5 separate regions of the Homo sapiens genome follow, and all the other regions are linked to region 4. Evidence: promoter capture Hi-C in 16 types of primary human blood cells and fetal thymus (Javierre and others, 2016). All regions are on one chromosome and are shown on one strand. The core of a region is centred on a gene start or on the middle of the fragment in contact, and the rest is flanking DNA. Distances in the headings are between cores, read along the strand shown.

The links. The method cuts DNA at HindIII sites, captures the fragments that hold promoters and counts their contacts. A CHiCAGO score of 5 or more calls a contact.
Region 1: a contact is called between the fragment with the promoter of PON2 here and the fragment with the promoter of BET1 in region 4, in 3 of 17 cell types (naive CD8 T cells, erythroblasts and total CD8 T cells). The highest score is 7.2, in naive CD8 T cells.
Region 2: a fragment that was not itself captured here is called in contact with the fragment with the promoter of BET1 in region 4 in 1 of 17 cell types (non-activated CD4 T cells); the score reaches 6.9 in non-activated CD4 T cells.
Region 3: a fragment that was not itself captured here is called in contact with the fragment with the promoter of BET1 in region 4 in 1 of 17 cell types (fetal thymus); the score reaches 7.1 in fetal thymus.
Region 5: a contact is called between a fragment that was not itself captured here and the fragment with the promoter of BET1 in region 4, in 1 of 17 cell types (fetal thymus). The highest score is 5.8, in fetal thymus.

The regions. Positions count from the first base shown.
Region 1 is chr7:95,431,782-95,436,364 of GRCh38, forward strand. PON2 (paraoxonase 2) reads right to left here and starts at 3,247. Exons shown (of 9, transcript NM_000305.3): 1 at 3,097-3,247. The coding sequence starts at 3,170. RefSeq lists a silencer at 2,930-3,359 and an enhancer at 3,034-3,604. The HindIII fragment of the contact is 3,363 bases long and covers 850-4,212 here.
Region 2 is chr7:92,448,414-92,452,640 of GRCh38, forward strand. GATAD1 (GATA zinc finger domain containing 1) reads left to right here. Exons shown (of 5, transcript NM_021167.5): 2 at 339-464; 3 at 2,288-2,347. Among named protein-coding and RNA genes, the nearest start is that of GATAD1, 3.0 kb to the left of the region's middle. RefSeq lists an enhancer at 189-238. The HindIII fragment of the contact is 596 bases long and covers 1,755-2,350 here.
Region 3 is chr7:95,498,590-95,502,701 of GRCh38, forward strand. All of the region lies in intron 2 of ASB4 (ankyrin repeat and SOCS box containing 4), which reads left to right. Among named protein-coding and RNA genes, the nearest start is that of ASB4, 15 kb to the left of the region's middle. RefSeq lists a silencer at 2,168-2,462 and an enhancer at 2,761-2,810. The HindIII fragment of the contact is 1,319 bases long and covers 1,153-2,471 here.
Region 4 is chr7:94,002,662-94,007,202 of GRCh38, forward strand. BET1 (Bet1 golgi vesicular membrane trafficking protein) reads right to left here and starts at 1,694. Exons shown (of 4, transcript NM_005868.6): 1 at 1,537-1,694. The coding sequence starts at 1,555. RefSeq lists enhancers at 904-1,510, 1,511-2,116, 1,571-1,620, 1,631-2,260. The HindIII fragment of the contact is 1,547 bases long and covers 825-2,371 here.
Region 5 is chr7:95,475,326-95,479,596 of GRCh38, forward strand. It overlaps a transcript of ASB4 not described here. Among named protein-coding and RNA genes, the nearest start is that of ASB4, 8.5 kb to the right of the region's middle. The HindIII fragment of the contact is 872 bases long and covers 1,410-2,281 here.

The DNA of each region.
Region 1 (4,583 bases), core at 1,997-4,496, 1.4 Mb after region 4:
CATATGATAAAATACAGGGTACCCAGTGATATTTTAATTTGAGATAAACAATGAATGATATTTTAGTATAATTATGTCCCAAATTCCACGCTTAATGCTAAAAGTATGGTATAAGTATTTCATGCTTATACTAAAAAAAAAAAAAAAAATCCATGTGAAATTCAAAGTTAACTGGGTAGCCTACATTTTTCTTTGCTAAATCCAGCCACCCACCACCTACCCCAACATTCTCACGTCAGCCCATTTGGGGCTCCACATATCCAATAAAGTTACCATTTTATAAAGTCACTGCCCATTAAAGTGCATCACAGTCACGTAAAGAAAAGGTGCATCAAATTGTAAAGTAGGCCGAGGGTGGTGGCTCATGTGTATAATCCTACCACTTTGGGAGGCTGAGGCAGGAGCATCACTTGAGGCTGGGAGTTTGAGATTAGCCTGGGCAACAAAGTGAGACCCTGTCTCTGCAAGAAATAAAAATACTAGCTGGGCATGGTAGCATGCATCTGTAGTCCCAGCTACTCAGGAGGCTGAGGAGGGAGGACTGCTTGTGCCTAGGTGTTTGAGATTGCAGTGAGCTTTGATGTACCACTGTACTCTGGCTTGGGCGGCAGAGCAAGACCTTGTGTCAAAATAAAAAACAAAGAAAAACAAAAAACAAACAAACAAAAACCTGTAAATAAACTATCAGGCATTCTGTCAATAAGTTTTATTTACTTTTTCTTTTTTTTTTAGATTTGCAGCTATAACTTTAAAACCTTAAGATTAGTGAGAAGGGGGAATATTTGACTGTTGAGAAAACTTCCAACTTGCAGAAAAACTGGTGGCTTACACATTAGTGACAACATAATAAGCTTGTGAATTTTGGTGGTCTTGCCTTTGAAATGGAGAGCAGGACAGATCATATACAAAGTCATCCAACTCATGAATGTTCTGTAGAGCACAATGGGCATTACCTAACATGAAAATTAAGGTCAACATGTCCATTTCCTACCCATAAGCGTTCTTTCCTCAAATCTCACTCCCATCTCAGCCACCACACGCTTCCTCTTTGCACTGCTTTATCAGTAGATGAAACTACAACCATGGGACAGTGGAGCTGTGGCACAAACTCTGGTAGCACCTTTGACTTCTCCCTCATCCCTGGGGTTCCAGAGTTTGGGTCCCTGTTATCCTCTCTGACCTACTGCAATACCTTAACCAGTTACCCCATGTCTGCTCTCTATTCTAGTAGTTCTCGACCTTGACTGCTCATTAGAATTATCAGGAATGTTTTTAAAAATAAAAAATGCCACTGCTACTGTCAGCCACTGTTCTTACATTATGCACTTCCTTATTTATCTATTTACCTGGGAACCCTGAAGCCAGCTTGCCAAACAATACATTATTCCATATCACATTTTAATTATAACGAAAAATCTCTGGTAGGTAGACACCATAGTTTATAAATTACCAACTCAAATTTTGTTTTTTATTTATTTATTTATTTATTTATTCATTTTGTAGAGGTGGGATCTTGCTATGTTGCCCAGGCCTGTCACTAACTCCTGGGCTCAAGCAATCTTCTGGCTTAGGCCTCCAACAGTGCTGGGATTACAGGTGTGAGCTGTAGATTCTGATCCAGAACAGCTGAATCAGAATCTTTGGTGGTGCCACTCAGACACCAGCCCTCCAGGAGATTCTAATGTACAGAGAACCATTGCTCTCCTCCAATCCCCCCTTCCAGGCTTATCTCTATAAAACACAACTAGTTATATTAAGTTCTTGTTGAAAAGCAAAACCCACCAATATTTCCCTTTTGAAGCACTATTGGGCCTATGAAAGTGGGGCCCCATTTTTCAACTTATATTTAATGGCCTCAAAACCTATCCTTCCCACCACCCTACTATTCTCATCTCCTGACTTTATGCTCCCTTCAAATTGGCCCATTTGCTAGTCTTCCAACTTCCCACCTTAGCCCCTTTGCTCCTGCTGCACTATACATTTGGCATGGGCCCCTTCATGCTCATATGTGTTGCACCCACCCTTCAAGGTCAGGTCGAATGTCTCTTCCTCCCTCTAGAACTCCACCCTCAGGGGATGGAATCTTTCCTCTTTAAGCCTATGCGGTTCATTTGTGTCTGTCCTTAGAACATCCTAATTTATACATTTACTGTATTTTAATTCTCTCTTCCCCTGTATCAAACTCCATAAGGGTCGTACTCTACTATAGAAGCCTAAGAGAGAACATTACACATAGCAGGTGCTCAGTCTTTCTGGAACTCTTTTGCATGAGGCCTATAAAATTTTGGTTGAGGCAGGGCAGAACAGCTCACACCTGTAATCCCAGCACTGTGGGGAGGCCTAGGCTGGAGGATTGCTTGAGTGCAAGAGTTAGGGAACAGCCTGGGCAATACAGCAAGACCCCATCTCTACAAAAAATAAAATAAACAAAAAACAAACGTTGAGTTGGTAATTTATAAACGATGATGTCTACCTACCAGAGATTTTCATTAAAACTAAAATGCGAGATGGAATAGTGTCTGCGCTGTCTGGCATTCTGGCTTCAGGCTTCCCTGGTGAATAAATAGGAAGTAAGAACAGTAGCTGAATATTTCAAGTGTCTTTGATCTACAGCTGAAGAGTTTCTCAAACTATGCAGAAATGGGTGGAGAACAACTTTATTAAAGACGGGTCTGGTTTGGGCAACAAGGAGAAACAGCACCAATGACCTGAAATAAATCTTCATAGTTAAGGTTTCAATGCATGAGTAGTCATTTTGTTTTCAATTTAAACCACTAGTTTGGCCCTTGGGTAATTGCAAAGCATTCTCTTGTCAGCCTAAGCAGAAGAGAACTTTGTTAGCAGCAAGGGCTTATAAACTTTCAAGAAAGTGTCGCGATTCACTCCAAACTTTGCTAGTTTTTTCACTAGAAGCGGAGAGTCGGGGTGATGGGGGTTCAACTAGCTGGGGGAGGGACAGCATTCAAAAATTCTCCACCCCCGGCCGCAGGGCCAGGTCCCGCAGGAATCCCTCCCCCAGCCTGCGCCCTCCCCGCACCACGCGGCCACCCCGAGCCTGGGGACCGCCGAGGAGGGGCGCGCGGGAGTCCCACCTACCTGAGTGCCAGAAGCCTCTCGCCCAGGAGCGCCAGCGCGATCCCCAGCAAGCCCACAGCCACCAGCCGCCCCATGGCGCGGGAGCCGGGCGCGCTGCCTCGCTCCGGCCTGGCCAGCAGCTCCGTGGGCGGTGCCATCTTCCCGGCTCGATGGTGCCGGCCGCGCTCCGCCCCGTCCTCCGCCTAGGCCGAGTCCCTGCGTCGGGGCCGCGGAGGCTCCGCCCTGGGCCTGGCCCTGGTCTTTGTCCTCACAAACCTATTTCCCCAGATACCTTCGGGACGGCCCGGACACGCCTTACATTAGGCTCATGATGTGAAACTTTGAATTCCTTCACTTCCTTTTTCAAACAACCCACCCGAAACCCTCTAGCAGCCCGCATACCTTTCTCGTTTCCCTAGTCTTCAAACACATTTCTCACTCGCTATTCCAGTGAGAAACTTACATAGAAAGCAGCTTTTGGGGATGGGGGTCGGTGGCCAAGGGAGGGAAAGTAACGGGATGCGTCGTGTAAATATTTCACGTTGGAATCACTACTTTTTATAACAGGACGTAGTTGCGAATAAATAAACATCCTGTGCCTCGTAATACTTTTTTTTTTTTTTTTTAACAGGGTCTCGCTGTGTTGCCTAGGCTGGAGTACATTGGCACAATCATAGCTCACTGCAGTCTGGACCTCCCGGACTCAAGGGACCCTCCAGCCTCAGCCTCCTGAGTAGCTGGGACCGCAGGCACGTACCGTTACACCTAGCTAAGTGTGTGTAAGTTGTGTGTGTGTCTGTGTGTGTGTGTGTGGAGACCGAGTCTTGCTGTGTTGCCCAGGTTGGTCTCAAACTCCTGGACTCAAGCCATCCTCCTGCCTCAGCCTCCCAAAGTGCTAGAATTACAGGAATGAGCCACCATGCCCAGCCTCTATTAATACTTCCAGACTACAGACTTAAGGACTTAGACACGTCTTTTTCATCCAAACTCAAAGGGAAGAAGTGTAGTTTTTTTCTTTTCCGTTTTTACTCTAACAACCGTAACATGAAGGAATAATTTAAAATACAATTTTAAAAGTAAAATGAAATTTACCCATCAAGATTGATACCATTACAATAAATGAGTACATCTGAAATAAGCTTCTAATGGTTTTCGGTATTTAATTGCCACCCTACAATATGTAGGCAGAAATGGTCACACTTGACAATTTTCAACAAATATCAGTTTTATAAAGAACCAGTAAATAAAAGTGGATGCCAATTTCCCACCTGCCTCTCACCAAAAAAAAAAAAAAAAAAAAAAAGCACAAACACCTCTCTCCCTGTGTGTGTGTGTATCTCTGCTTCAGTCCTAAGGATATTGGATTATACTGGATGGTAGAAAGAGAAGTAAAAAGTTGTCCTTTGAAAGCCCATGAGGCATTACCTTTTTTGTGTCGTGGACCCTTCTGGCAGTGGTGAGCCTGTGGATAACTTCTTAGAATAATGTTTATAAATGCTTACAATAAA
Region 2 (4,227 bases), core at 803-3,302, 1.6 Mb before region 4:
AGTGTTTTTCTCTATTGTAGACACAACAAATGAATAGTGTTTGTCTTGGTCAAGACTGACTCCTACTCCCGCCTCCTGCCCTATTACAAGCAGCTCACACCTTTTGGAGGCTCTGGAGACGCCTGTCCAGCGAGCTCCGAGATTCCGGGTGCTGAACTTCCGGTTTTACTTAGCCTAGTTGCTGTAATTACTTCTCTTGAAAAGCAAAAGGGCAATCTTAATTGTTAAATGCTCTTATAAAGTACATACTCTGGGATCCTTGTAAGATGATTGTACTGCAACCTTTATGCACTTTTTACTTCTTTCTCTTTTTGTTCTTTAATTTGTTTGTGTAACAGAGTAAGCAGGAAATTCACAGGAGGTCTGCTCGGCTCAGAAACACTAAATACAAATCTGCTCCGGCTGCTGAAAAGAAAGTCTCCACCAAAGGAAAAGGGAGAAGACATATATTTAAATTGAAAAATGTAAGATATTTGTGGACAGTGCCTTTTACTGTAATGACGTTGTGTGTATCCTGCCACTGCCTTCATTTCTCACCATTGAACTTGGACTCTGCCCTTGGTAGCCCTTCCTTAGTATTCTGGGGAATGGTCCAGATTCCCCAAAAGGGAATGAGCTCTGTTGCAGGAGGCTCACTGTTTATAAAGTTAATAATACTCTTTCCTTTTTGTTTTTTAGCTTTTATTTTTTCCCCTGGAAAATATAAAATATGGGTTTAAAAGAAACATCAACCTTGAGCCCATTTTTTGGGGTTCTCTATGGAAAGGAAGAGGAGAGATTATGGTTCTTGATATGGCCAGGTACACTAAGAAAACTTTTTTTTTTCATTCTTTAAAAATCTAAGTAAATATTAACACTAGAACTCATCATTTGCATATTTATTTGTTATTAAAGCCCCAGAAAATGTATCTTACTGACTTATGATGATGATGTATTTGATGAATATGAGTCAAAAATTTTGCTAAGCCTTATCTCCTCTTCTGCTCTAAGAAAAGAGATTGTTGAAAGACCTGTGCTGGAAGTAGTTGAAAGCATATTTTTATTGCAATTAAATTCTCAGTTTTTATAAACAAGGGATAATGTTCAAACACAGTGGACAGTGCATTATGGACTATTTTTTTAAGTCTCAGTATGATATTCTTTTCTTTCAGAACAGGAATGTTTCACTTACCCGTAAAGACGTTTCTGAAGTTGGCCATATTTATTTCTAAAACACAAAGGGACCCTGCAGTAGACTTATGCAGATGGCAGACTATTTTCTTTTTTTTTTTTTAATTTAATTTAATGAATTTTTTTTAATTTTACTTTAAGTTCTGGGATACATGTGCAGAATGTGCAGGTTTGTTACATAGGTATACGTGCCATGGTGGTTTGCTGCACCTATCAACCCATCATCTAGGTTTTAAGCCCCGCATGCATTAGATATTTGTCCTAATGCTCTCCCTCCCCTTGGCCCCCATCTCCGACAGGCCCCAGTGTGTGATGTTCCCTTCCCCAAAGTATTTTCTTATTCAGACTAGTTGCTTCTAATTTATTTAAGATTTTTATAGTTAAGTGAGGCATTTGTTGATTACACAAAACATGTTATTGATATTTGTATCACATATGCACATTTTTTTCCTTTTAAGTATGGTATACCGTGTTCTCAGCAATTATTTCATTATCGTTTCTCTGCAACCTTTCTTCAATGGTACTAAGCAAGACACATCTGGGGAGGCCTACTTTCTATGTTGTGGCATAAAAGTATGTATTGAAGCTTTAGTAGAGATCTCAAAAATGGTTGGATGGTAGCAAATTACTAAGAACTCTCAAAGTTTCTAAAGCCTTAGTTTCAGCTTGCTAGAAAACCTATGTTGAGTATTATGGCTAGTTCCATAGTTGAGTTGGGAAATGTCTTTGAGGAGACACTTTTTCACTTTGTATTCATCTGTACATTTTCTGTTACTTGCATTCTGTCATGCTCAGGCTATTAGAGCAGGTACATTTTTATAACTGGAATGTTTATGTGTAGTGAAGCTCTGAGAGGACTTTGCATTAGATCTCAGCAGCATAATCAGAAGGTTGTCCTTTGTCTCAGCAATTTTTAAGCTAATAGTAGCAGAAATTGCAGTGGAAATAGACTGCTTTGCCACAACATTCAGAAAATCATTTATCTTTTTATTGCAGTTCTTGTCACCAAACAATACATTTTAGTACTTCTCAAATTGCAGAACTCTCATAGGGCTGGGAAAATGCCTGTAGACACATACATACTATGAATGTGCTAATGTTTTTTGTATTTTCATAGCCCATCAAAGCTCCTGAGTCAGTTTCCACTATAATCACTGCAGAATCAATCTTCTACAAGGTAAGCTTTTGTAGAGTTACTGAAGGAAGAGTTGGGCCTAGTGGGTAATGTGCCACTAAAATGTTGGATTAGTCTAAAGGTCTCTGCTACTCTTTATTTGTATAAGGTGTGATTATACTTTTTGTTCCCTTCTTAGCTGTTTTCCCCCATAAGTGGCTGTTATTAAAACATCTCATCTAGAGCTGAAGTGGGAGGAGAAAGTGCCTACTGACACATGATGTGAGGATCTTAAGTATTTTTTTTTAGTGTAGATTGTAGGAATTATTCTTAAAATGCTGATTGTATAGTGTGGAGCCATGGAAGACTGAGCCGTTAGTGCGATGGCATTGAAGAATGAGAAGGACAGAGACAGGATTTGGACTAGTAGAGGTTGTCGACTGTGGTGTCAAATGGGTAGAGTAGGCCCAGAGATTCTAAAATGCCTTTAAGTGGAGTTGAGCTGAGTAAGGGCAGTAGTGAGGATTAACACCTACTAGAAATTCATAGTGAGAGGAATTCCAAGATGTTTTGATAAAAGAATGAGGAGGTCAGGTTTCCCAGGGCCAAAGTCCATGAACATCTGATACCTCAGTGAGAGAAGTGACAGATTGTTGTGTTTAAACCAGAAGTCTTAGGAAAGGAATTAGAACATAGACCCCCAAGGCTCGGCAGGCCTGGCACGGCACAGGCAGCAACCATTGAAGGCTATTTGGTGTTTCGGGATCTGAACTGTCATTTAGGGGACAGTGGTGTGAGTTAGTACTTTATACTTGACCCAGGTGGACTGAGAAACTCAAGTGATGATGCCCTTAAGTATACTTTTTTTTAAGCCCACAATCTATATAGTCGAAGTCTGTTCCTCCCAACAGGGGTACACTGGCATTCCTCAGCAGGGCTGGGAAAAACCAACAACAAAAAAAGTCTGTACACAGGCAAACATCTCTCTTATTTTTCCAACATTTAATACATTGTTAATAAAATATCTAAAGTTTAGCAAACAGTTGCTGTGTATCAGTGGCTGAGCATTTTGCATGCTTTATTTCATTCAGTTCACTCTATGAGGTGGATACTACTATCCCCATTTTCTAGATGAGAACATTGAGGCACAGCGAGGTTAATTAACTTGTCCAAGATCACATAGCCAACAAGTCATGGAGTGAGGCAGTCTCATGCCAGAGCTTAAGCCTAGAGCATAGTTCCTGGCTCTACAGCTTTAGCAAGTGACTGGCTATGTGACGAGGACCAACCTCTCTAATGTCTCATCTGTAAAATAGGAATTGTAAATAGTTACTACCTCAGTGGGTCAAATGAAATCATATGTGTTAAGCACTTAGCAGAGTAAGCACTCAATGAATAGTAGGAGTTATCACATCTTCGTATTTGTGCATTACCTTCACAGTTTACAGATTAAGGCCAGAAGCAACTTGTTGAGCTACGGGTTTAGTGTACTAACAGTTTCCATGTGTGTCTCCATGGAAGGGTGTGTGGGACCTGTTATTGTGACTGTCTGTACTTTCGTATTGTTGTCTGCCACCCATGTTTATTAAATGATAAGGACAATAATGCAACAAAGTAGTCAAGTAATGTTGCAAATGCCCAGTATTGTAGTGGCTATCACAGCAGTGCCACTGGCAGGCAGCACCATGGTGGCAAGTTCAAGAGGTCACTGCCAGCCACTGAGCTAGAGCCCAGATCAGGCATGCAAGAGGAGCCTGAGTGGGAGCCACTGGGGATCACGGCCAAGAGTGTGACCACCCAAGACCCAGAATGGCTGAGTGGCCTCCCTGGAGCATGGCAGTGGCAGAACAACTCCATGAACTCAGATCTGGTGATGCCTAAACTAGTGCTGTTCTCGTGTGGACCCCTTTTCTCTACCAGAAACCTTGAATCCTCTCAGCAAA
Region 3 (4,112 bases), core at 562-3,061, 1.5 Mb after region 4:
ACTAGTCATTTATCAGATACATAGTTTGCACGTATTTCTCTTCATTCTGTGGCTTTTCTTTTCATTTTCCTAACAGTATCTTTCAAAGAGAAGAAGTATTTAGTTCTGATAAATTCAATTTACCAATTTTTTTCCTCCTAGCAAAAAATTTGTTTCATATGTTTATTTCTAGAGGTTTTGTCATTTCAGATTTTACTTTTAGGTGTAGGATTCATTTTGAGTTAATTTTTTTATATGGTATAAGTTATGGGTTAGGTTCGTCTTTTTTTATATGGATGCCCAGTTGTTTCAACACCATTTGTTGAAAAGAATATTCTTTCACCATCAAACTGCCTTAGTATTTTTGTCAAAAATCAATTGGCAATATATGTATGGGTTTATTTCTGGACTCCAGCCTATTCCATTGACCTATATATCTTTTTATTTTTTTCCCTAATGCTCCACTGACTTGATTGCCACAGGTTTGTATCAAGTCTTGAAATCAGATAGAGTGAGTCCTCCTAGATCAGTTTTAAGTATGAGAGTTTTCATATCTCTTTGAAACTTCAGTGAAAATGTCAAGGATGCACTTTATATAAAAGTATAGATTTCAGAACAGAGCCCTGGACTAAAGGTATAATTTCAGAATTGTTGGCCTATAGATTGTATTTGAAGTCAAGGAAATCAATGGAATCGCCTGGATAAAGAGTATATATAGAGAAAAGTGAATCTATGAAAAAGCCCCAATGAATTCTAACATTTCAATGTTAGAAGGATGAGGAGAAACCAGTAAAGGAGAGTAAGATATACTGATAAGTAAAATTGGAGAAAACCAAGAGTATTTTGGCAACACAAGGACAAAGAAAGAGGTAGTAGGTTCCAGAAGCAGAGAGTGGCCAGCTATAGTGATAGCTACCCAGGGTTAATTAGATGTTCATTAGATTAGGTGACAGAGTTATCACTGACAAAAATAGTTTTGGTGAAACAGTGTTAAAAGCCAGATTTGAATGGTATAAAGTGCAAATGGGTGGTAAGAAACCAGAGATGCCACAGGTAAACAATTGGTAAAAAGAAGTGAGGCTGCAGAAGTGAACATAAGAAGAGCATGATTGCTGGAGGGGGCTGGAGGGAGGTCACAGGCAAGACTTACCTACAGTTGGAGATCAAAGAAAAAGCTTGTGTGCTAAAGGAAATGATTCATAGAAAGAAAACAGCTGAAGATGCACGAGACAGGATAACTGAAAGTCCTTCAGAAGTTGAGATGAGATTAAATCCAGAGACTACGGGATACATCCTCTTTTTTTTTTTTTTTTTTTTTTTTTTGAGACGGAGTCTCGCTTTGTCGCCTGGGCTGGAGTGCAGTGGTGCGATCTCGGCTCACTGCAAGCTCTGCCTCCCGGGTTCACGCCATTCTCCTGCCTCAGCCTCCCAAGTAGCTGGGAGCATCCTCATTTTTAAGAAGCGGGACAAAGTAAAAGATGGTTTTAAATGCCAGAATATTTATAGATTTGATGGTGCTACGATGAGGGAGTTCGGATGGTTTTTCCCCTCAACAATGTGTCAAAGTCACCAGCCAAAAAATGAGAGGAGAGCAGAAAGCATAGACATTTTCATAAGAATGGAGAAGGAATGGGAGGTTCGGGAGAAAAAAAATGGGAGAAGAAACTTACTAGAGAAATGTAGTAGGATTACTGGACTTATAAAAGATGCCATGTGGCTAGGAGCCGTGGCTTATGCTTGTAATCCCAGAACTTTGGGGAGGCTGAGGCAGGAGGACCTTTTGAGGCCAGGAGTTTGAGATCAGACTGGGCAACATAGTGAGACCACATCTTTACTAAAGGAAAAATAAATTAACCAGGCATGGTGGTGCATCTGTATTCCTAGCTACTCGAAAGGCTGAGGCAGGAGAATTGCTTGAGCTCACGAGTTTGAGGCTGGCTGCTGTGAGCTATTATTGGACCACTGCACACCAGCCTGTGTGACAGAGCAAGATCTGTCTCAAAAAAAAAAAAAAAAAAAAAAAAAAAAGCCATGATCTTTTCAACCTGCGGAAATGAAGGGGAAGAAAAAATTCAGCCCAGCATATTCTCCTTCTTCTTTGGTTCACTTGTTAAAAATGAGGCTGTATCCCATATTCTCTGGATTTCATCTCATCTCAACTTCTGAAAGACTGGAACCTTTCAGTTATCCTGTCTCATACATCTTCAACTGTTATTTCTATGAATCACTTACTTTGGCACACAAGGTTTTCCTCTGATCTCCAACTGTAGATAATAGTGACCTGTGACCTCCCTCCAGCAATTGTGCTCTTCTTCGCTTTTGCAGCCTCCCACTTAGGAAGGAAGCTACAGGGACAAGGTTAGGCATAATTTGGAGCTTACTCACATTTTCTATGTGTAGCCATCACCACTCTTCACATTTACTCATTCATTTATGTTTAGATTTAGTTTTTATCTTTATTGATTTTTAAATTTAATTAGTTTAAACATGCAAGCTTTTTATTTTTAAGAGTTTAAGGAATTTTAGAAATTATATATTAATTTAATCATTAACTTTCTAATTAAAACATTTTTTGTCTCACTTTTCGTAATAATGAAATGAAAATGAAAGCTGCCCACTTTACTCTGCATGAAGCAAATCCTGACAGTAGGAGGAAAATTTGTTACTGCAGGAAAGCCATAAAAATTCAAATGTTTCTTAGCAGAATGTAGCATGGGGGCAATGTAAAGGGGGCCATGCCTTTTAAAAGACTGTTCCCTGCTACTTTATCTGACAGTGACACAAGTCAACCACATGTTAGGAAATTCCCTGGTCAATGAAGTGGAACATGGTAAGGCAAGATGTCACTGGCCTTCATTTTAATCCGAAATAGATAGGCCTGCTGGACAGACGCTGCTCTTACCACCTCACCGCATTCCATCTTTTCATCTTAATCATAAATAAGAACACTTAAGATCTACTTTCAACAAATTTCCAGTAAACAATGCAGTGTTACTAACTATAGTCATCCTGCTATACATTAGATCTTCAGAACTTATTCATCATCCGGTGTAACTGAAACTTTGTTAACTTTTTACATTGTGGCCTTTTCATGTGACTTCATCAACCACAAACTGACAGAGTGGCCAACCTTTCACTCCCTAGAGGTGTCACCTTTCCCAGCCGGTACAGTTATTCCCCATCTCTTTTGTTCTTGTCAACAGAGGGAGACTACCTAGAGATGAGAAGGAAGAAAGAGGTAGGGGGAAGCTTGGGCAATGCTTGTAGGCTGACACTAATGAATTAGGCTTATAAGAATCAAGGAGAGAGAATAGAAGTCCATTAAAGATCCACTTACTCTTTCAAGCCATGTCATCAAAGGCCGAATTCACAAAGAAAATAGAGATAAATTAGAGAAAGCAAAAATGTTCAACTTCAGAAGGGCAAACACCATAAAATTAAAAGGCAATCATAAAACTGGGGAAAATATTTGAGACTATATGACAAAGGGCTTACTATACGCAGAAGTTTTTCAATTAAAGTAATGAGGCTAACAACTAAAAAAAAAAGAGAGAGAAAGAGGTAAAAAAAGAAAAAGAACAAAACGACCAAGAACAGGAATATTTAAGGGAAAAAAAAGAAAAATCATATAAACAGCAAATAAATATATGACATAATGATAGCCTTCATTGGTAATCAGTAACATGTCAATTAAAATGACAATTAGCTATTTTGTTGTTGTTTGTTACGTTAATAAGCATACAAAAGATAATACATATATGACAAACACATAGGGAAGTGCTCTTACACACGCTTAATAGAATGTAAATAGGTACCAGCCTGCGGGGGGGGGGCAAATTGATAACACATATCAAAAGCTTAAAACTTTCTTGTAACTTAGAAAATTCGCCTCTAGGATTAGGGACCAATTCTAGGCAGGAGACCATTTTACCCAGGGCTGTCATTTACTTAGGGCCTCAAATTCAGACTTTAGATGTTATCTCTGAACTAGGTTATACCTAAAGTCAAAGAGATAACTGGGGAGAAAGAAAAAGAAAGACACTGATCATGTAACTTAGAATTGTGCTTGGTCACATGACCTGCAGTACACTAGAAATTAGAGACTTTCTCCTAATTCTGTAAGAGTTTTCAGA
Region 4 (4,541 bases), core at 444-2,943:
AGGAAAATACTCAAAAGGGCCTAGGGGCCTACTGATGAAATCCAAACTCTTTGGCCTCGCATGCAAAGATCTCCACAGTGTGATCCCGAATCCCCTACTTCACCCAAACTGGCTTAATCATAATCCCTTACTTCTTTTGAGTTCCTCCTATCTGGAACTCACTTCCCCCACTCTCCATTATTCAAGGTCTACTTCAAATTCCTATGTCTCCACCAAATACACAAAGATCTTCCCCACAAAGTACACAGTGATCTATCTCTGAAATCTCTGAGACCATCCCTTATATGTAGAACTTATCTGGTATTTGGATGTATAGCGACACTTTGTACTACAATTTATCTTTGCACATATTCCTACTCCCCACCTAGACTGGAAGCTTTGGGGATCACAAACAGGGCAACAAACAACTGTATACCTAGAGCTTACTCAAGCACACAATAAATCTTTTTTGGTATTAAGGATGATGAACAAGAAAAACATTTAGACATATAAAGCTAAACTTGCTCAAAATTATTTCTTTTTTTTTTCTCTTCAATTTACCTGGCCCCATTTTCTATGATCTAAGTATTCATAAAAACTTCATTAAAAAAACAAAAAACTTTCTCATACTACAATTTATTGATCAATAAACAAGTCTACGGTTATTGGCAACTTTCACTGACTTTAAATATCTGACACTTTGGGGATTTTTTTTTTCTTTTTTCAATCTTATAATGACTGAGAAAGGTAATATCTTTTTTCAAATGTTTCATTTATTTTCTGAAGTATACTGCACTCTAATTTAGCGGGGTCTTCTTTAAAAAAAAAATCGTGTCCTAAGAGAAAGCTTCAGAACCAGAAAATGCCGTTCTAGTAGCTGTGCGTTACTATAAGGGTCCATTAAAATTCCTTGTGTCTAACTTATTCTTGCTGATGAGCCAGTTTCCTAACCCCAAAGGTAAAGATCAAATGTTAAGTCGCCAAACCTTAACCACGTTCTACTGCCTTAACCGTGGCACAAGGTTCAGATTAAGAAATCGCCTTTGACCCAGAAGTTCCAGTTCCAGGACCTTTAACAATAATGACACATACATTTACCTTTGTAACTCACTGTTACCAGATTAACGACCATTACTAGCGTGCTTTGGGTGCAACCACCCACTCTTCAAATTCCGCTTCTGAAGAAACTAAGATCCAGGGCCAGTAGGGAAACAGAAACCGGAGTCGGGCTTTGGAAAACATAGCAGCGTCCATAACCACGCTCAGTCAATAACACTAAAACACTCGACCACTGAGATGCCACCTGTACACACCCACCCCTAGTCCACTACTTTCTCTAGCCTACCATCCAAACTTGAATCTGACTCAAACTTAAGGAAATTCCAAAGATCTGGGACAAATGGTGTGTTTCCACTCGACATGGACCCCAAAGATCCCCTCTAGACATCCTGTTTTTTGGACCAAATGCCAGGAACATAAGACAGGTTCGATTTCCTCCCGCGCCCCAGCGCTCCCGGTTCTAGGGCCCCGAACTTCGAACCTCAGCCCTCTTCTTACCCAGGCCTGCACGCCTCATCCTGCCAGAGGAGAGAGAGAAAAGGCGGGTGCGGGGCTTTGGGTGAGTAGGAAACAGCTAGGGGCGACCCGGACCGCGTCTTCAGTACCAGGGCCCAGCGAAACACCAACTTCTTCCCCTAAAGCGCCACGACATCAGTGGAGTCTAAACACCGCGCCGGATGATGGCGTCACCACGGCGCTCATTGGAGCCCTGGGAAGAAGGTTGAAAGGCATTCTGGGAAATGTAGTTCACCAACGCATAACGTGTTGCTGAGGGCGTGATGTGAACCCGGTTCCAGGAGCGGACGGGGCGTCCGGAAAAGGGGGCGGCTTCGACTGCGGCTCTGATTCTGGGTCTCTGATCCAACGTTCCCGCTGTTCCGCTCGCAGCCCGCGGGTCGCTGCTTTCAGTTTGTTGACCACCAAGTTTAACCCAGCAGATCTGCTCCTCCCCACCCACAAGAGGATGGTTGGGGTATCTTTCCTGATTTAGCCTCGAACTCCCTCTCACCTCCAGAGACGATTCAGGGAAAGTTAGAGAAAACTTTGTCCAGGTTTCTCAGTTTACAAACAAGTAATCCGACACCCACAGAAGTAACCGATTTGTGCCTTGTAGTATCCAGTAAAGGAAAGAAAACCAGGTTCCTTTGAGTAGGACTCCTGCTCAGATGAGAGCAGACTAGGAAAGGCTGCGGGATCTGGTCAGAGGCACTGAATAGTTAGTTCCCTGTTACTGCATCTGTTGTACTTCTAGAAAGAACCAAGACTTTTAGTTGTTATGGGGACCAAAGGACCCCTAAACGCTCTCCCACTTTTTTTTTTTTAACTTACACAAAGCTTATTGAAATACTGCTTACACAAGGCAGTGTGCCAATTAGGGGTTTAAAACTTGTTGGCGAGTTGGAGGTGTTACTGGTATCGAGGTTAATCCTAGAATTTCATTTTATCTCAGAGGATTTATCGTGAGAATACGATGAAATCGTGGTTTTTGAAGGGAAAACAAAAAAACCTGATACACAGTAGGTGATCAAAATTCACTGGGTGTCTGCGGTTTTGTTGTTGCTGCTGTATATATGGCAGTGGAATCGTCTCCACACTAGAGATTTCCGAATATGTGATCTTTGATCATTTAGCGTTTCCTCATAGTTTCCCAGGACATTATTAACATTGACTATAATACTGGCATAAGTCTCTGCGTTAAGTTGCTTTTGTAAAAAACACATGAAAACAATTTTTAATAAGAGTTATTAACCTGGGAAGGAGGCTTTATCCAATAGTGTTTTGATAGAAAAAAATCATTAAAATAAAACCGCCATTTTCTAAAAGCAATGAAATTAAATAAGCATAATATCAGGGACAATTATTACAAATAAAAGATGGAGATTCAATAAAAGAAATGATAGCTAGGTATCCCTTTATAACTTAAAATCTGTGACAGTCCTTTGGTTAAAAAAATGCATGTTCTATAATTAAAACGTTTAAAAATTGCCTTACAGAAGGCTTGCTGATGGAAATGTAGAAATCGTTATTTTTGAAAATATGGTAATATTTACTAGAACTAATCATTTAGATTACATAAAATATACTGCTTCCTTTACATGGTAGGAAGACATAAGAATGAAATGTAGTTAAAAGGAAAACATATATAATGTACTAAGAATATAACTGAAGTAAGGCAAAGCTAGTTCATATTGAAGTTGTTACCTAAAAAATCCAATTATTGTTTTTAGCTAACGTTGCTAGTATCAAATTAGGATAATGTCATCTGAAAAAAATTTGCACTCAAAGGAAGAGGCAGGAAAAATGAACTCAATGTGCAGAAAAAGAATTATTAAATGTGACCATAGTTGACATTAGCGATCAGAGGGAATCATTTTCACTTTTCTCGTTGTGCTTTTTCCTTTTTAAATTAAAATCCTTAACTTTTCTTACTGATTGAAAGCAAATAAATTTCACAGAGATGAATAGCATTTAGAACCTCTTCTCTATTCTCACAGGATAGTCTCACAGAAAACATCTAATGTTTGTAGGTCTCTAGGAGATAAAGGACTAAAAATTACTTAAAATAATATTAAGTATTCCTTCTAGTAATTACAAAAGCAAGAATAAAAGCAGGAAATGTCTGAATCGAGGTGCAAAATTGGAACTTTTCTTTCTCCTATCTGTCTGCTTCCTGCCTGCCCATTTGTCCTACCTCTTCCTGACCAAATTTCAAGTCCAATCCAAGGGAAAAGAGCATACCAAGCTCTCAAAACTGGTTCAATAAACATTAACACATTTTTCAATCATGAAGCAAATTCAGTATCTCGGGTATCATATTTGAACTGTCACAAAATGTAAACTAGAAACAAAAAGCTCTTGATTTACAAACAAGCTATGGGACAAAGTTTGTTTCTAAGTTTGTTGTTTGGTATTTAAAGCACATTTTCCCTGAAGACTGAAATGATGGTCAGGTTCCCAACTCAGCCCAGAAAACACATGGCTGTTAGAGTTACTATGCTGGCCAATCAAAGTCTGTGTAACCCATAGGACAGCAGAAATACCGCGTATTTTCAAGACCAATAGAAGGAAAATAATGTTGTAATACTTGTGATAAAATAAAGCAAAGCCATTAAAGAAGAAATAGAGTGTTTAAAAATTATTTTGGTTATTCATGTTTGAGAAAGAATGAGTTTTACTTAAAAGTTTTAAGAATGCGAAGAATATTTTCAAGGAGTTTGCAAAAAGTCACCAATTTGATCTGTCTTTTCCATAATTTGGGAATATTACTAGCACTGATGGCAAGCTTTTCAGCCATAGTTTGTAAAAATTAGGCACACAATTCCAACCTTAAAGTCCTCAGCAGAGCCAGACACATAATTTGTGGGGCTCAGGGCAAAATGAAAATGTTGTGCCTCTAGTTCAGAAAACAGGGGAAAAGTTCAGTTAAAGGTATTAAGATACAAAACTTCTCTTTCTTCTGTTTTCTTCTGTAATCTCCCTACCATCGTTCCTCCCCTCCCCAC
Region 5 (4,271 bases), core at 596-3,095, 1.5 Mb after region 4:
AAATCACAACCTAGAATATTGGCAGTGGTCAGTGACTCCCCATTGCAGGTTGAATTTAATTAATTAATTATTTTTTGAGATGGAGACTGGCTTTGTCACCCAGGCTGGAGTGCAGTGGCTCAATCTTGGCTCACTGCAACCTCCACTTCCCAGGTTCAAGCAATTCTCCTGCCTCAGCCTCCCGAGTAGCTGGGACTACAGGTGCGTGCCACCACACCTGGCTAAGTTTTGTATTTTTAGTAGAGATGGGGTTTCACCATGTTGGCCAGGCTGGTCTCAAACTCCTGACCTCAGGTGATCCACCCACCTCAGCTTCCCAAAGTGCTGAGATTACAGGCATGAGCCACCGTGCCCGGCCTTGAATTTATTTAATAGCTAAATTGCTCTACTTGCATTCAAGGTCTTCTGTCTTTATAAAACCAAATCATGTATTCCAGTGTCATCTTCTATTTTTCCTGCTCATATTCTTTATCTTTTAGTAAAATTAGATGGCCATTCTCTCCCCCATCTCTAATCCTTGCCATGAGCTGGCAAGGTTGTGAAGAATCTTTACTTAGTTAAGATTTATGGGGTGCCTTCCTAAATGGCATCACAGTGTAAACAAAGAAATCAAATCACCTGAACTTTTCGGTCTCTATATATCAAGATCCCAAGATCCTATTTCAAATACCATTTCCTCTGTGAAATCTTTCTTGATTCCTCAAACCGAATGGTGTGATCTTTCCTTTTTATAATGCCAGCTCCCTGTGTTTCGTATTTCTGGCACAGTAGATTCTGGTCTGCCTTATTGTATAACCAGTATGGTCTAATTTCATTCGTCTATAAGTTCTTGAGATTGGGGCTGAATCCTACACATCTGTCGGTCCCTACTACACCTATCACAGTGTCAGACACCTAATAATAACTCAGTCAATAGTGTTCAAATTGTGGTATGCAGCGGCAAGGCTTCCAGCCCAGCCCAGAGTCATCGGATAGCTTTCAGCCAAGGCTGTTAGCTGTGTGAGGTAGGTGCGTATTGCATGCTTGTCCCAAAATATTCTCTTGCAGGTGACTGACATTCTTTTTTATATTTAAAAAAAAATTTATAGAAAGCTCACAGCCCATGTTTAAAATACAAAATTCACCTATGAGAAATCAAGAAATGGAAGGAAGATCTAGAGGACAAGCCTAGCTCTTTTACCCCCTGGAGCAATCAAGGGGCAGCTACAGACACTAGAAAAGACCAGGGCTGGGAAACGGGAACAATATCTTTGATTTCACAGTCTTGCCTGGGGCCTTGACTGACAGTAGCTGCTGCTTTAACCTCCATCTGTGGCTTCACGCCTTTTTAGAAAGGACTCAGGAAATCACACTCTGGTCTTATAGGGAATATTTTCAGCCTAGGAGAAAAATTGTGAGCATGAGAAGCAAGCTTGTCTTGCTTTCCCACACCCAAAGACAGAGACTCATAAGACAACGGTCTGTAAAGAATCTGGAGACACATGGTATGAAACATTTTTAGCTTATTATTTTGAATGTTCTTCTTAATACCATTGTAGCAAAAACAAACAATAAAGGGACAACCCACTCCTCCTCCAAACAATGTTTAATTTATGTATTTGTTAGATACATATTGAAATTTATTTTATGAAATCATAAACCAATAGCAAATTCTCAGTAGAGAAATTCATTGTAGGAAAATATGATCAGGAAAGATATGGTTTACGTGGATTAAAACAAAATTTTTAAAATCCATATTTGTGGTTTAACCTGGATCACGTTTTATCCGCATTGGCTTGGATTTTTTTTTTTTCCCCAGGATACTGCAGCTGTTCTTCCGGGTTCATTTATCGAGGAACACTGCCATCATGTGGCCTGACGTGTTAACACAGTCCCTAAAAGACAACTAGCAGCACGGTTTTAATTTTGATTCTCTCTCTAGAAAAACGTTTGTGGCTTTAAAATGTGCTTCGTTATTTGAAGCTGTGTTTGTTAATACCTTTCTGAAATGGCATCCTTAAAATATTTGCCAAAGGGTCAACTCTACGTCACCTTTTGAATTTCTCAAGTATATAGTTATCACATCAAAAAATATATAAAATAATAATTGAACATTGCTCATTTTATAAATTTGTCAAGTTTTCACAAATTTATCTACTGTAAAAAGAGTGGAATGCTTTGCTTATATACACTAGTGTGGCTGCTTATTTTTTCTTTACACTATCAGTTTAGGGAGAGGAGATGCAAAACTATAGAAAACTACAGAAAGGCAGCGTTGTGTAGTTCAAAAACTAAAGTATGAAGCTTGACATTAGGTTGGAGACTTCGCTTTGCGACTAATTAATTATGCAATTTTGTGCAAACATGTAAGTGAGATGGCCTCAGTACTTTTTTTCTTAAATGAGAAGATTTGATACCCTTAACAAGAACCTTTTTTTTTTTTTTTGCTATAATTCTGTGATTCTACAAGCAAAATTAAGTTCTTTTAAAAAGCAAGAGTGTTGTTTCTCTTTAGGTATACTATTTTTCTATGGTTTTCTGAAAATATGTGCCCCCTTTCTCTCCACTCCTCTTTCCCATTCCTAACTGCAGCTTTGTCTGCAAATTTGTTGTGCAATTTTTTTTTTCCTGCAATATCCCATAGTTTTGGTGTTGTGTTGAGGATTGCTCCTTCATGAATTAGATACTTCCATAGTATAAAATAAAACTGATGAATCTTTGCAATTGGTAAACAACTTATTGGCTTCTGACAACTGTGGGTGTAAAAAGAACGTTACAGAGGACAGTCCAATTTCTTTACCCCTTAAAAGGGAAGGATAATTTTTTTTTCTTACTGCACCTCTGCATCATAAATTTGTCAAAAGTAAAAAGAGGATGCAAATGCTGCCTGGAGTACAATTGTGAGGTAAATGTTCTGAAGAGACAAAATTATGGTAAATTATTCCCTCGAGTTGATGTTGTGAAGTGTGTAACTGGGTGAGGGATGGAAATACAAGCTGGTGTTGATGTTTAAACTGTGCTGGACGGCGTGTAAATGCAGGTCAGTTGCTAGGAGACCTGGAACACAGAGCTAATGCCCCCTCTGTGGGGCAGGGATGTTTGATCTGAAAAAACCTTGTCTTTCACAGTCAAAGATGACGTGAAATGAATAGTCTGTCAAAATTCAGGTGGGCCAGTGCTTGGTTACTGCTTATGTCAATCCAGCCATTCTGACATCCACCACCTGTAAAGAGAGTCGCTGAAACGGAACAATCTAGCATCGTGCCAGCGACCAAGATTCTCCGGAAACACTCAGGGTAATTAGCTACGAATTCTTTAAATACTCTTACATGAAAGGCAGCTGGTTTGTTCGCTGATATGGGATCCAAGAAGTGGGCAGTAGCGGCTAAATAATTACTTCAGCATTCCAAAGAGAGGGATGCCAGGCCACAAATAGAGTTCCAAGCGAAGATGTGCTTGCGTAGGACTTTGGACCCTCCCGTTTACAAAGCAATCATTTCTGCCATTTGTGAGGATTGTTGAACAGATTTTATGTTAAACACACATGCTCCCAGTATGTAATTACAATTGAGAATGAATACGCCGAACTTTAGCGCTGAAGCATCTTAGCAGTTCTTCCAGCGCCCCCAACTGCTTGAAGACAGAACCTGAATCAGTCTGTGGACAAGGGCAGCCCATAACATGGCTGCCACAGGGAAGACTTTCAAAAAATCTCAGCAAGGTCTTCTGCCCTTGCAAAATGGTATTAATCTTTGCCAATGTCCAGGACACTGTGTTCCATAAGGGAGAAAAAAGCCCTAAAGGCTGAGGAGTGTGTCTAGTAGGTCTCATTTTACTTACAGGAAAAGAAGTCACTGAGAGGTATTTTGAATTATTTGAAACACACAGCTTATGACCACCAGAGCTGGGAATACGATCCAGGTGTCTCAGTCTGACGGTCTTTCACCATAACACCACTTAGTATTTCTCAGGAAAAATTGTGATGTTCTATTAGTCCACTGATATGAACAACAGTAATAATATGTAACTCTCCTATAATGCTTCACAATATGCAAAGTACGTTTATATACGTTGTTTCATGTGATTTTTACAACCCTGGTAATTATTCTTATGAAATAGTATGCTTAGTCCACAGAATTGATCTGTATTGTTATAAAAGTATAGTTTTAATTGTACTAGCTTGCTGGCTCTTTATTATAATATTGTGGCCATGCCCCCAAATCAAGATGGCCTCTGGGAATAGATCATTGAAATCCTAATGTGGTTTGAAAATTTTTTGTGTGTTTGCCCCA